4 separate regions of the Homo sapiens genome follow, and regions 2, 3 and 4 are each linked to region 1. The links are contacts of gene promoters, found by promoter capture Hi-C in blood cells and fetal thymus (Javierre and others, 2016). All regions are on one chromosome and are shown on one strand. The core of a region is centred on a gene start or on the middle of the fragment in contact, and the rest is flanking DNA. Distances in the headings are between cores, read along the strand shown.

The links. The method cuts DNA at HindIII sites, captures the fragments that hold promoters and counts their contacts. A CHiCAGO score of 5 or more calls a contact.
Region 2: a fragment that was not itself captured here is called in contact with the fragment with the promoter of AP4S1 in region 1 in 1 of 17 cell types (erythroblasts); the score reaches 7.1 in erythroblasts.
Region 3: a fragment that was not itself captured here is called in contact with the fragment with the promoter of AP4S1 in region 1 in 1 of 17 cell types (erythroblasts); the score reaches 5.5 in erythroblasts.
Region 4: a contact is called between a fragment that was not itself captured here and the fragment with the promoter of AP4S1 in region 1, in 1 of 17 cell types (erythroblasts). The highest score is 5.8, in erythroblasts.

The regions. Positions count from the first base shown.
Region 1 is chr14:31,023,391-31,026,898 of GRCh38, reverse strand. It overlaps AP4S1 (adaptor related protein complex 4 subunit sigma 1), which reads right to left and starts at 1,250. Exons shown (of 6, transcript NM_001128126.3): 1 at 1,112-1,250. STRN3 (striatin 3) reads left to right here and starts at 520. Exons shown (of 18, transcript NM_001083893.2): 1 at 520-995. The coding sequence starts at 714. RefSeq lists enhancers at 22-181, 1,292-1,401, 1,472-1,571 and silencers at 312-631, 722-981, 1,121-1,302. The HindIII fragment of the contact is 24,948 bases long and covers 1,186-3,508 here.
Region 2 is chr14:31,093,618-31,096,783 of GRCh38, reverse strand. AP4S1 (adaptor related protein complex 4 subunit sigma 1) reads right to left here. Exons shown (of 6, transcript NM_001128126.3): 6 at 334-3,166. Among named protein-coding and RNA genes, the nearest start is that of STRN3, 69 kb to the right of the region's middle. The HindIII fragment of the contact is 1,452 bases long and covers 1,029-2,480 here.
Region 3 is chr14:31,129,198-31,132,741 of GRCh38, reverse strand. It overlaps HECTD1 (HECT domain E3 ubiquitin protein ligase 1), which reads left to right. Exons shown (of 43, transcript NM_015382.4): 25 at 3,294-3,544. Among named protein-coding and RNA genes, the nearest start is that of HECTD1, 77 kb to the left of the region's middle. The HindIII fragment of the contact is 3,591 bases long and covers 1-3,372 here.
Region 4 is chr14:30,922,143-30,925,557 of GRCh38, reverse strand. All of the region lies in intron 8 of STRN3 (striatin 3), which reads left to right. Among named protein-coding and RNA genes, the nearest start is that of COCH-AS1, 34 kb to the right of the region's middle. The HindIII fragment of the contact is 2,282 bases long and covers 540-2,821 here.

The sequences.
Region 1 (3,508 bases), core at 1-2,500:
GGGCCCACCCTTGGGACTGCCTGAAACACTCAAAGAATGAAAAAGAAACGTCAGGAATCCGAGACGGGATGCGGTCGGCCAGAGCGACCAGCCAGGTTAACAACCAGCTCAGAAAGCCGGGACACGGGTGAGAGACCCCTGGGAAGGAAACAGCGCCCGGGGACGGCCTGCTAAAAGGAAACTGATAACCAGGAAGCCTAAGGCCGCCTCGCTTCCAAAAGTCAGAGTCGGAGCCCAGGTGTCCGGTAGCTGCGGCCAGACACCGGATCGGGTCTGAGGGCGGGCCTAGGGGCGGAGCCCGAGCTCTTTCCCCGCCCTCTAACGGCGACCCGGGCTGCGTTCTCAGTGCGCCGGCGTAGGGTGAGGCCGGACTCTATTTGGCGATTAAGCGTGAGGCTGCGTTCGCTACCCAGCATGCTGTGCGCTAGTGACGGCCCTCCGCCTATCCCCTTCCCAACTCTCCCCCCACCCCTCCCGCCGAGGCCCCCCCTTCCCCTAAAGTGAGTGAGTGAGACGGGCAGATGGAGGAGGGATTGTAATGGCGGCAGCCGGCAGCTCCCTGCTCTGACCCACGGCAGGCACACAGCAACGACCCCTTCCCCGCCCCTCTCCCGGCCGGCCTCCGCCCCGCAGCCAGCGCGGGGCCACCCTCTCCGGCCCTTCCCCCAGCTGTCGGCGTCTCGCCCTGCGCCCCGGCCGGGGCCCCACACACAATGGACGAGCTTGCCGGAGGCGGTGGTGGCGGCCCGGGGATGGCGGCCCCTCCCCGGCAGCAGCAGGGACCTGGGGGGAACCTGGGCCTTTCGCCCGGGGGGAACGGAGCGGCGGGCGGCGGGGGTCCTCCGGCCTCCGAGGGAGCGGGTCCCGCGGCAGGCCCCGAGCTGTCCCGGCCGCAGCAGTACACTATCCCGGGGATACTGCACTACATCCAGCACGAGTGGGCTCGGTTCGAGATGGAGCGGGCGCACTGGGAGGTGGAACGGGCCGAACTGCAGGTACCTCGTTGGGGTCGGTGTGCGGGAGCTGCGGCGGCTGGGTTCCCGGCCGGGGGGTGGGGCTGGGGACTCCACTCAGCCGGAGCCGGCGCCTTGGGAGGCCGAGCGGAACCTACCTGTGCTGCTCAGGTTGTGATGGTCCTCTCAACGGCTTTTCCTGGAGTCCCCCTCCCTCTTTCCCGCATAAGCTTGCTCCCCAACCTTCACTGGCTACGCGGTGCGGGCCTCCTCGGGGCAGCCATTTTGGCTTTTAGTATGGCGTCTGCGGGGGCTCCTCCGGAGGCGGCCTTCCCGGGCCTCCGGGGCTTGGGACCGAGCACCTCTCTGTGGGAGAGTCCGGTTTGGGGCCTCTCAACACTGAGTTTGCTCTTGTTTGTTCCTCTTGAGATGAAGAGCCCGAAGAGAGGGACTAGGATAGGCATCTTACCCCCCTTTTCCGGACCACCCCCCTTTCCGATTTGGCGTATCTGGCCCCCTCCCTCAGACTTGGTACGCGCTTGCCCCTTGACAGCCACGCTTCTTTCCTGGGCTGCTAGGGTGCACAGTGACTTGGGACTGACCTGTGAAGTTTTATTTCCCATCGTCAACTTTAAGTACTTTCTCACCTGAGATGCTGCCTTACTCACTTGGATTCTCTGTAGTTATTCCTTACTTAGTGACTCATCAACGCTTTCAGCACTGAATTTTTCTTTTTACAGTACTCTCCACTAGATCTCCTTTCCCCCATCCGTTTCTTTATCTATAAAAAAACCAAACCAGACGATCGATGCTGTATTTATGAAACGACTGAAGAGATTTAATATTCCCTTGAAGTGAAACGTAGTTATATCATGTTACTTACTCTTGCAGGAGAAGCAAAGTGAGATGTTCTCGGAACCCTTCATAGTTGAGCTTGACTCGATCCTCATAATGTGAACCTTTGATAGGCTGCACATTTGGAAGCTGTTGGTAGTTAACAGCTCATGTCCTGGATCTCAAAATTGCTGCATCTTTTTGAAAGGGTTATTTAACTTTCTTGGGTATTTGTGTTTATTTTTAAATACCTTTCCAGGGCAAATTTAGGCTTAGAAGGAAAAAGCGTGTGTCTAAATAGTATTGCACCTGTTCTTCAGACTGTTGTGTATTTAGGGGGTAAGCAGTATTTGCTGTCATATATGTCATATGCCTATGGTGAATCGTTAGGCAAATGTAGTGCTGAAAGGAGGAGGATTGGATTAACTAGAAAGGGTGTCCTCAAATATGCATCTCTTTAGTTTGGTTCTGAACTAGTAAACTTTTATATGACTCCACAAAGTGGGTGAAGTTAAACTTTTCAAAAGTAAAAAATACTTGGGTATTTTGACACTGTATGAAGTCTTAAAAAAAAGTAACACTTGTTAGTCATTTCAGTGCTTTACAATTGTGTTTTGATATAATATTGGGCTTTAAAATTACATAACTTTAAAAAAGCTGAAGTCAAAACTGGTTTAAGTTGTGTACAGTCTGCTTTAACATACTTAAAATTTATAGAATTCTGTTGGTATACAGCTTTCTACTACATACTGCAAACTTAATTTTCTGTGTGAGTAAAGTAAGTAAGGCATTTGTTTTTAAAATTTGGATTGACAAATGCAGTAAGGCCTAAGCTCACTAAATAATACTTCACCAGTCCCTGCTATGGTTTCTTAGACCTTTGTACTGTTGTATGCAAGTTTGGATTTCAACACTCTTCAAGTTAGCAATTGCATTTTTCACCCATAAACTTCACTAATGTAAGCAGCTGAGAAGAAAGATATCTTGTGCCCAAATTAGTAAAACCTATACTATATATTAAAGAAGCCTTTATTGCCTGCTCTAGCATTTGCTTTCCCTTCTAGGTCTCCTTAACAGCAGCAGCAGTGTTTTAAGGTAGATTCCTTTTGCTTGCTTGCTTGCTTTCAATTCTATTGGTACAGTACTGTTATTAGCCATCCTAAGTTTTTGTTTGTTTCCTTGTTTTGAAGAAGTCCTACAGTGTTTCTAGACTCTTTTTTATTTCATACTGATTCTTTTGGAATAAAATGTTCATGATGGCGTTGGTTTTTTTTTTTTTGAGTTATATATTTAAAATGTTTTATTGGGTTAACTTAATAAGGTTTCTAGTTTGCTTTAGGTGCCTTCAGTCTACTGAGATTGCTTGTGAGATGCGTATTTTAAAATGTATGTGTTGAATACATATTTGTGGGAGGGTGTAGTGAAGCATCAGTGGATTTTTACTGTAAACTTAAACCTATTTTTAAGAAAGACAATCTAGAAATAAGACAACTTACATATTATTATGTACAGTCTCCAGTGCACTGTCATGTACACAGATTTTTAAAGTGTTAATTATTGAATAGTTTCAATAGAGAACGTGAAGAGCTTAAGGAATACCCCATATTGATGTAAAATTTTAATGGGGAATAATATTTTCCCTGGCTTTGGGAAAGATATTAAAAGGAACTTTACAGTATGATTCTGTTCTCTGTAAAAAGAATTTAGAGTAAAGGTCTGTC
Region 2 (3,166 bases), core at 505-3,004, 69 kb before region 1:
GGTTGAGGCTGCAGTGAGCCGTAATCATGCCACTGCACTGCAGCCTGGGCAACAGAGCAAGACCCTGTCTTTAAAAAAAAACGAAAAATAATTTTATATATATATATGTATATGCATGTAGTCTCTCTCAAGACCTTATTGCACTGTACTCACTCTTCTCATGATCTGTCCATCTGGTAACCAAGACAGTTACCAAATGACTGTCAAGTGGGGAGTGTATACAGCATGCATATGCTGGACAAAGGGACGATTCACCTCCCAGGCAAGACGGAGCGGGACAGAGCAGGACAAAGTGGGATGGTGCAAGATTTCATCACACTACTCAGAATGGCATGCAGTTTAAAACTTATACATTGTTTATTTCTGGAATTTTCTGTTTAATATTTTGGGACCTCAGTTGACCATGAGTAACACAAACCACAGAATGCGAAACAGTGGATAAGAGAGGGACTACTGTACATACTTTCGCCTAAGACAGTTCTGTATATTCTTCTGTTAACGGGGTAGCAAAAGCATATAGAAAGGTTTTGGGGGGATGCAGTGCATTGCTCTTCTGTAATGACAGTAATTTACTTCAAGACATTGCAGGAGAAGGGGTTAAAGGAGTAAAGGGGAGGAAGAGAAGGATTCATTTCATGCCTACCTGTACAGAGACACTTTCTTGCTTTCTACTTTTTTTTTTTTTTTTTTTTTTGAGACGGAATCTCACTCTGTGCCCAGGCTGGAGTGCAGTGGCACAATCTCGATCTCAACTCACTGCAACCTCTGTCTCCTGGGTTCAAGTGATCCTCCTACCACAGCCTCCCAAGTAGTTGGGATTATAGGCGCGTGCCACCATGCCCGGCTAATTTTTCGTAGTTTTAGTAGAGACAGGGTCTCACCATGTTGGCCAAGCTGGTCTTGAACTCCTGACCTCAAATGATCTACCCACCTTGGCGTCCCAAAGTGCTGGGATTATAGGCGTAAGCCACCATGCCTGGCTGCATTCTACTTTTAAACTTTGAACTAAATTTCATTAACAGTAAGCTTATTAATAAGCAAACCTTTTAAAATGTGGCATAAAAAGACTGGGCACAGTGGCTCAGGCCTGTAATCCCAACACTTTGGAAGGCGAAGGCAGATGGATCATGTGACTGCAGGAATTCGAGACCAGTCTGGGCAACATAGTGAAACCCTATCTCTACAACAAAATACAAAAATTAGCTGGGTGGAGGGGGTGCGCACCTGTGGTCCCAGTTACTCAGGAGGCTGAGGTGGGAGGAGCACCTGAGCCCAGGAGGTACAGGCTGTAGTGAGGCATGATCACACCACTGCACTCCAGCCTAGGAGACGGAGATGCTGTCTCCAAAAAACAAACAAAAAACGGGATAAAGGATAGCTGTAGGGGCTCTCTGGGGCTGTCTTAATGTCTGACCATCCATTATTTGAAAGTAATGTTCTCTATAGAGTTAATTACATAATGGCATTGTAATTACTAAGTGCCCTTAAAATGAGTATCAAAGGCTTTTACAAACTGGCAAATAAAATTTAACTCTGCATCTTTGTTAGGTACATGTTATAAAAGTTTTTTTGTTTTGTTTTTGTGTTTTTGAGGCAGGGCCTCACTCCATTACCCAGGTTGGAGTACAGTGTTGTGATCATAGTTCACTGCAGCCTCAAACTCCTAGGCTTGATCAATTCTCCCATCTCAGCCTCTTGAGTAGTTAGGAGTACAGGTGCTCACCACCACAGCTGGCTAACTTTTTAATTAGTTATTTACTTATTTTTAGAGACAGGGTCTCACTCTGTCGCCCAGGCTGGAGTGCAGTGGCATGATCTCGGCTCACTGCAACCTCTGCCTCCCGGGTTCAAGCAATTCTACTGCCTCAGCCTCCTGAGTAGCTGAGATTAGAGGTGCTTGCCACCATGCCTGGCTAACTTTTTGTATTTTTAGTAGAGACAAGGTTTTGCCATGTTGGCCAGGCTGGTTTCAAACTCCTGACCTCAAGTGATCTGCCTGCCTCGGCCTCCCAAAGTACTAGGATTACAGGCATGAGCCATCACACCTATTTATTTTTTGTAGAGATATGGTCTTGCTGTGTTGCCCAGGCTGGTCTTGAACTAATGGGCTCAACCAATCCTCCTGGCTTGGCCCCCCAAAATGTTGGGATTACAGGCCTGAGCCACCGCACTCGGACTTTTTTATTTTTGAGACAGGGTTTCACTCTGTCACCCAGGCTGGAGTGCAGTGACACGATCATAGCTCACTGCAGACTCGAACTCCTGGGCTCAAGAAATCTTCTGCCTCAGACTCCCGAGTAGTTGAGACTACAGGTATGTGCCACCACACCCGGCTGATTTTTGCATTTTTTGTAGAGATGAGGTCTATGTTGCCCAGGCTGGTCTTGAATTTCTGGCCTCAAGCGATCCTCCTTCCTCAGCCTCCCAAAGTGCAGGGGTTACAGGTGTGAGGCACTGCACCAGCCCCACATTACAAAGCTTTTAGAGCCAGGCCAGGAAGGTTCAAGGTTGTAGTACAACATGATCATGCTTGTGAAAAGCCACTGCAGTCCAGCCTGGACAACACAGCAAGACCTGCTTCTCTTAAAAACAAACAAACAAAAAACACCTCTTGGCTGGGCATGGTGGCTCATGCTTGTAATCCCAGCACTTTGGGAGGCTGAAGCAGGTGGATCACTTGAGGTCAGGAGTTCAAGAACAGCCTGGCCAACATGGTGAAACCCTATCTCTACTAAAAATACAAAAATTAGCTGGGCTTTACATAAAACCGGGCAGGGCATGGTGGCTCACATCTGTAATCACAGCTCAGTCTCCTGGGGACTACATGCCTGTAGTCGCAGCTACTCAGGAGGCTGAGGCAGGAGAATTGCTTAAACCCAGAGGTGGAGGTTGCAGTGAGCTGAGATCACACCACTGCACTCCAGCTTGGGTGACAGAGCAAGACTCCGTCTTAAAAAACAAAACAAAAAAACAAACAAAAAAACACCTCTTAAAAAGTTAATTTTACTAAGCCTTTTAAAGGAATAAGACAGCCTTCAGAAGTCAGGCACTGTGGCTCATCTGTAATCCCAGCGTTCTGGGAGGCTGAGGCAGGCAGATCACCTGAGGTCAGGAGTTTGAGACAGCCTGGCCAACATGGTGAAACCCTGTCTCTACTAAAAATACA
Region 3 (3,544 bases), core at 328-2,827, 110 kb before region 1:
TCATGTTTTCTAAATATTGCTATGTGAATCAAGTTTCTTTGATGCTGCACAGTTTAGCAAAGTCATCCACTTAATAAATTGCTATTAACTTTAAAGCAATTATAGTGGCTAATTATTTTCTTCAAACTATAAGGCTGACTTATTAGCAGATAATTTGCCTAAATGGCAGTGGGTTTGTTTTCATCAATTTTGTATCAGTTTTTGGCATTAAAAAAAGTAAAAATGTTTATATTCTCAACTTACACCACATATATATATCCACATATATGTGTGTGTATATATATGTATTTTTTTTTTTTTTTTTGAGACAGAGTCTCGCTCTTGTTGCCCAGGCTGGAGTGCAATGGCGCAATATCAGCTCACTGCAACCTCTGCTTCCCAGGTTCAAGCGATTCTACTGTCTCAGCCTCCTGACTAGCTAGGATTATAGGCATGGGCCACCATGCCTGGCTAATTTTGTATTTTTAGTAGAGACGGGGTTTCTCCATGTTGGTCAGGCTGGTCTTGAACTCCCGACCTCAGGTGATCCACCCACCTCGGCCTCCCAAAGAGCTGGGATTACAGGCGTGAGCCACCGCACGCGGCAACTTACACCACATATTTAAAGAGCTAGAATAAATGTGACGGTACTTACGAGAATGACTGACATTTAATTTCATGTTTTATGTGGTAAAGACATTTATTTATTCAAATAAACCCTTTGACTATATTGCTTTTAAGATTCTATTCCTTGAATTATTTTACTGCCAAATGTATTTATGTAGTATCATGCCCTAATTGCAAATCATTGTAATCAAAACAGGTTTACAGCGACCTAAAATTCATAAATACCAGTAATAGTTGAGATATCAACTATTATTGTTATACTGAGTTGAATAGTAGTGCCATTCAACTCAGAAAATTTCAAGTTTTCTTTTTAGGCATCTTGATGATACTTATTAAAAAGTTGTTATTCTATTTCCTGTAATTGTTTTGGCCTTGATGTATGTGACTTGATAAGAAGAGGCTAGTTAGAGATGTGTGAATGCAGTTCTTTTTTCTCAGGATGGAGTCAACTGAAGCAATTGCATAGGGAAATTAGAATCTTTTTTTTTTTCCCAAGATACAATGGCACAACAGTTTTAATACAACCACCAGTCTTCAAAAAATAATTTTAATACTTTGTGCCTGTACTAGCAGCATCTTGCACTGTGACATTCCTATACATACATAAGCATTTTATTGAAGTACAAATGTTAAAAGCAGAGTAACTTAAGCAATTGCCTATACAAAGGTAAATAGACACTGTGGGTTATTTTTCTTCTCGATTCATTTTTGCTGCATAGTAAGTTGCAATTACATGTCAGTATAATAATGTTACTGATCTATAAAATATATTTGAACCGTGAGGTATGGCACCTCCCTATGAGAGAGTGCTAACATGTACATCTGAATATTTTGAGTGTTTTTTGTTTGTTTGTTCGTTTTAGCTGCCACAGATGGGAAAAAAAAAAATCACCTAGCCTAGAAATCTCAGAGTTTAGCGTTCAAGAAAGGCCTATTTTTGCTAATCTGACAAATGTAGAAATTTAGTTTTGCCTAATCAACATGGCCATTCCCATCAAGTTATGCCTTTGAGTCTCTATGTCAGAGAGGGTTCTTAGCTTTCAAATACTTAAACCAACCATTTCTAATGATGGATAGTCATTACTGACTCTATTTTTTTTTTTTTTTGGTTTATCTTTTGGGTGTAGAAGGAGTTGAGAGAGTATGTTTTTTGGGCCAATTAATATAATACAAAAGTTACTTTTATTTGAGATTGGGCTATGTTTTTGAAACTTTTCCTTTTCTCACACATTTCTGTGTAGCAGAAGAGATAGTTAAATGTTGGTTCTTCAGAGATTATTTCAGCATACAGAAAAAAATAGAGGCAATTGAAAAATCTCATCTAAGCTACTTATGTAGATTTGGGGCAGTCACTTTTCCTTTCAAAGAACACATATGCAGATAATCCCCACAGGTAATTCAATATTATTTCCCTCTGAGTGCTATCATAAACATATGAACTTGGTGTAAGTGTGGGTGAGCATCTGGGTGTGTGGATGGGTGTGTATGTGATCTTGGGCCCCTTTTATGTATGGGTAAGAACTTTATAAAGGCTTGTTATACTTCTAAAAAAATGTTTTTTATGTCTTATGTTTTTCCCTGAAATAGTTAGCTTATAACACTAAAATAAGATTGTAAAATTTCTATTAATTTGCTTTTAATAGACAATTTTTTTTTTGCTTTTGGAAGTTAATTACCTTTTTAAAAAAAGAATATCATTTTTCTACTACAAGTAAATATATAGATTGAATATCATTATGCTCGTTAATTCTGTACATGTTATTAGCTTTAGCAGATAGTTCTAATAAAAGAGTTCAGTATGCTCTTTAAATTTTTTTTTAGAATTTTCTGTGTTTATTCAAATTTATTGAACTTAATTATTTAATATAAGAGAACCAAGGAACCACTGAACTTTGAGAACACAACCGAAATGCTAACTTTAGTGTTTTATTTGAACTAGTGACTAAAATTTCTATGGCAATATATGAATATTTTGAGAGGTTAGCCCAAATTGTAAGAAATTAATGGTAAGCTGGCATGTTTTTGTAGAAAAAAAATTTGACTACACATAATTATATTTAGCAGTTTTAAAACTTTTACCTAGATTCTGTTTACTTGCTGAAGTGGCAGTATTTTACCATGTATATCAATCTTTTAAAATTTCTTAAACAGTTCTTCCATTTAAGAAGTAACCAAGCCAGGTGCAGTGGCTCACATCTATAATCCCAGCTACTCCAGAGGCTGAGGTGGGAGGATCGTTTAAGCCCAGGAGTTCAAGATTAGCATGGGCAACGCAAGACCTCATCTCTAAAAATCAAATAATTTTAAAAATGAAATATAACCCAGTAGATTTAAACATGACCCTTACATTGCTTTTAAATGTCATAGACTGAATAGTTCAGAAATAAGGGAAATAAAAGGAAGAATTTTAAACATTTCCTGGAAACCTTGTATAGAGTACATATTTCTTGTCCTTAAAATATTTGTATCATGAGAGTTAAATAATATAGACTTTCAGATAGCTAGTCATATCGTCAAATAATTGAGTCCAAAAATTTACATATATTTTAGTGGGCAGACCTTGATTGACTATAGAAATTCAGAAAAGGACAGCACTGATGAAAAGCTGATCCCATATTGTGGAGCTACTGTCTGACACGCTCCTATCTGCTTTCTGCTGGGTCTCACAAACTCCTGTCCCTTTCCAGGCTGGATTGATGTCACCTGGGATGCTGGTGGCTCAAACTCTTACCGTATGGGCGCAGAAGGAAAATTTGACCTCAAGCTTGCACCAGGGTACGACCCTGATACAGTGGCATCACCCAAACCTGTTTCATCCACTGTTTCAGGCACAACGCAATCATGGAGCAGCTTGGTGAAAAACAACTGTCCAGACAAGACATCTGCTGCTGCAGGCTCCTCAAGTAGAAAAGGAAGCAGCAGTTCTGTGTGTAGCGTG
Region 4 (3,415 bases), core at 431-2,930, 100 kb after region 1:
TTTTTTTCTTTATTCCAGAATTTGTTAATAAGTCACACCTACTGAATTAGCATAAGCTTCTACAGATTTTTCACTGCAGCTTCTTAGAGGGAAGAAAACTATTTGCTAACTTTACCATATGGAATCAGCAGATGTAATCCAGTCTTTTTTCTTTTTTTTTGGAAGGGAAAGAGAAAAATGGCAAGAATACTGACTTCTTAACTTTGTAAAGACCCATTCAAGATTTGACTTTTAAATGCTAAGTTAAAAGTGCTAAGTTAAAGTTTCTGTGTCTCCCAACTCGTTCACTCCATCTCACCCTTCTTTTTTTTACCCCCCTGCCCGCCCCCTCCCCCCAGCAAGAGGAAAAGGGGTTAAAAGTGACAGCCTTGTCTTGGAACGTAGACCCACTTCAGTATTTCTTTCTTACTAAGTGAGATATACAATATAATTGAGATGCACTTTATCTTATTAGTACTCTAAGAGTCAGTACCTTGAAACTAAGAAACTAAAGAGGCTTGATGCAGTTATTTTGGTCTCAGGCTTCAAAGGGTTAAGCTTTCTTTTCCTTTTAACTTTTTATTTTGACATAATTTCTGACTTAAGAAAATTTTGTGAGAATAGTACAGAGAATTCCATATACTTTTCACCCAGGTTACCCACCAAATGTTAACACTTTACCACACTTGCTTTTCCCTTTCCTTTCTGTAAATATATTCTTTTTTATTTTGAGACAGGCTGTCACTCTGCTGCCTCGGATGGAGTACAGTAGCACATTGTAGCTCACTGCAACCTCAAACTCCTGAGCTCAAGCAATCTTTCCACTCCCGCCTTGCTGGGACCACAGGTGTGCACCACTATGCCTGGCTAATTTTTACATTTTTTAATAGACAGGATCTCTGTATGTTGCCCAGGCGGATCTCAAACTCCTGGCCTCAACTGATCATCTCACCTCAACCTCCAAAAGCATTAAGATTTCAAGCATGAGGCTGGGTGCAGTGGTTCATGCATGTAATCCCAGCACTTTGGGAGGCTGAGGCGGGCAGATCACCTGAGGTCAAGAGTTTGAGATCAGCCTGGCCAACATGGTGAGACCTTGTCTCTACTAAAAATACAAAAAAAATTAGCTGGGCGTGGTGGCTCATGCCTGTAGTCCCAGCTACTTGGGGAGGCTGAGGCAGGAGAATCGCTTGAACCCAGGAGACGGAGGTTGCAGTGAGTCAGGATCGCGCCACTGCACTCCAGCCTGGGCGACAGAGGGAGACCATCTCAAAAAAAAAAAAAAAAAAAAGATTTAAGGCATGAGCCATTGTACCTGGCCATGTTTTTTTTTTGTTGTTTTTTGTTTTTTTGTTTTTTTTTTTTTGAGTAGTTCAGAAAACTAAGTTGTAGACATGTTGCTCTTTAAATATATTAGTATATATTTAAACAAAGATACTCTCATGTATGACCACAGTACAGTCATGAAAATCAAGAAGTAAGTGTTGATGCAATACTAATATCTAAGCTAAAACTCAGTTTTCTTTCACTTTTTAATAATTTCTATGTTTTCTGTAATTTGGGAGGAGCTTGAATTAATCTTTTGTAAAAATTTTGGGCTGGTAGCATTTTTCTAACTTTTTAAGGTCTCCATTTGTGCTGTATTTTATATCTTAGTAAAAACATATAAATCAATGATTAAAAATCACAGTATGAACGAAGCATCTGAAATATGGAGGCTTTAGTTAGAATATGAGAGAGCAGCTAAAAATCTTTTAAGACTTTCTTTGATATTTGTTACTCTTTTTCAACATGGACAATTTAAACTGTGGATTATAATAATGTATTTTCCTTTGATAGGAGCTGTTATTCTTATAGCCTGTTGTTACTCTTAAGCTATATTATACCTATAAAATTTAAACTTACCAAGAAAAGATTATTTCATTTCCTTTCTTGAAAAGATGTATAGGCTTTCCCCATTTTAAAAATTCATATTTGGGGAATATGTATGTTTGCATTCCTGGTTCTTAGTGAGTGGACTTATCTTAATTTTCCTAATTATTCTCGTTTATCTTAACTTTTCTGTCTTTTCTATATATGGAATATGACTTTTTTGCCATTTCCCTTCTCTCCGTTACTGGTGTTGCAGAATTGCTATGCACCTTCTGGCCTGATTATCAATACATTTGAAAAGGGGGAAGTCTTGTAACTTTTTCAACATTTCTTTTAATATAAATCATAAGTGAGCTCCCCCAAGTCATTTTCTAATTTTTATTTTTAAAGTTTTGTATTAATATTTGTCATTTACTATTCCAGATCCAAGAAAACATGTTGTCACCAGGAAATACAGTTGTTTAAAGTGTGACTTGAAGCCAAATATCCAAAATTAGGTATTTGAATACATTTAAGAAGAACTTACTCTTAAGTAGGCTTTTAAAAACACCTTTGCTCACACTACAAATTATCTGTTATGATTAAGCTACTTCCGTTTAGCACATAGTACTAATTCGAAGAGCCCACAAAATAGTTATATTCTCTCTCCTCCCTCAAAGACAAAAACAAAATTGTTTCATAGCAAAGAGATGTTATTTTCAACTAGGCATGTGGTTTTATGTTACTGGCTTTAATTTCATTCTTTAAAAACAAACATTCATGTCCTTTAACTCGGGATTTTTTTCTTTCAAGAAAATAACTTAGGTATTTTGCCTAGGATCAGAATGTATCAGATTGATACTCTAATCAGTGCACTTTTTAAAACCGAAGAGTCACTTTGCAGCTGAAGTTATTTTTTCTTATTATTGTGATCTCATATTTATTTAAGACAACAATTGTCTTAAATAAATTAAATAAAGCTGTGAAAGCTTTAATTATGATAGAAAATAGAACAGATCTAGCAAACATGACTTAACTAAATTTTTGTGCTAAAATAAGCGTATCTTTTCCAGATTGTTTGCCTGCTAACAGTTAAGCTTCAGAATATAAAAGTTGATCAACAAAGGGAGGGCTCATTTGAGAAAGGGGAAATGTTAGATTTGTTCAAAAGTACTATTTTACTTACAGTTATATAGGGCGTAGGAAGATAAATTTCATGGCATGAGTATGTGTGTTTGAGCGGAATTTGAAAATGTAACAGTAGTCTATAGTTTGGCTTACACGTGGCATAATTAGTATGTTTTTCATTGTGTCAGTCTAGAGGATTATGCATTTATATAGGACTTTGTATTTGTTAAGAGGTAGGTGGGTTGTATTCATAGTAGTAGAAAAGTTTTTCTAGCTGGGCATGGTGGCTCATGCCTGCAATCCTAGCACTTTGGGATGCTTAGGAGAGAGGATTGCTTGACCCCAGGAGCTCAATACCAGGCTAGGCAGCATGGTGAGACCATCTCTACAAAAATAAAAAATACAAAAATTAGCTGAGTGTGGTAGTGCATGCCTGTGGTCCCAGCTACTCTGGAGA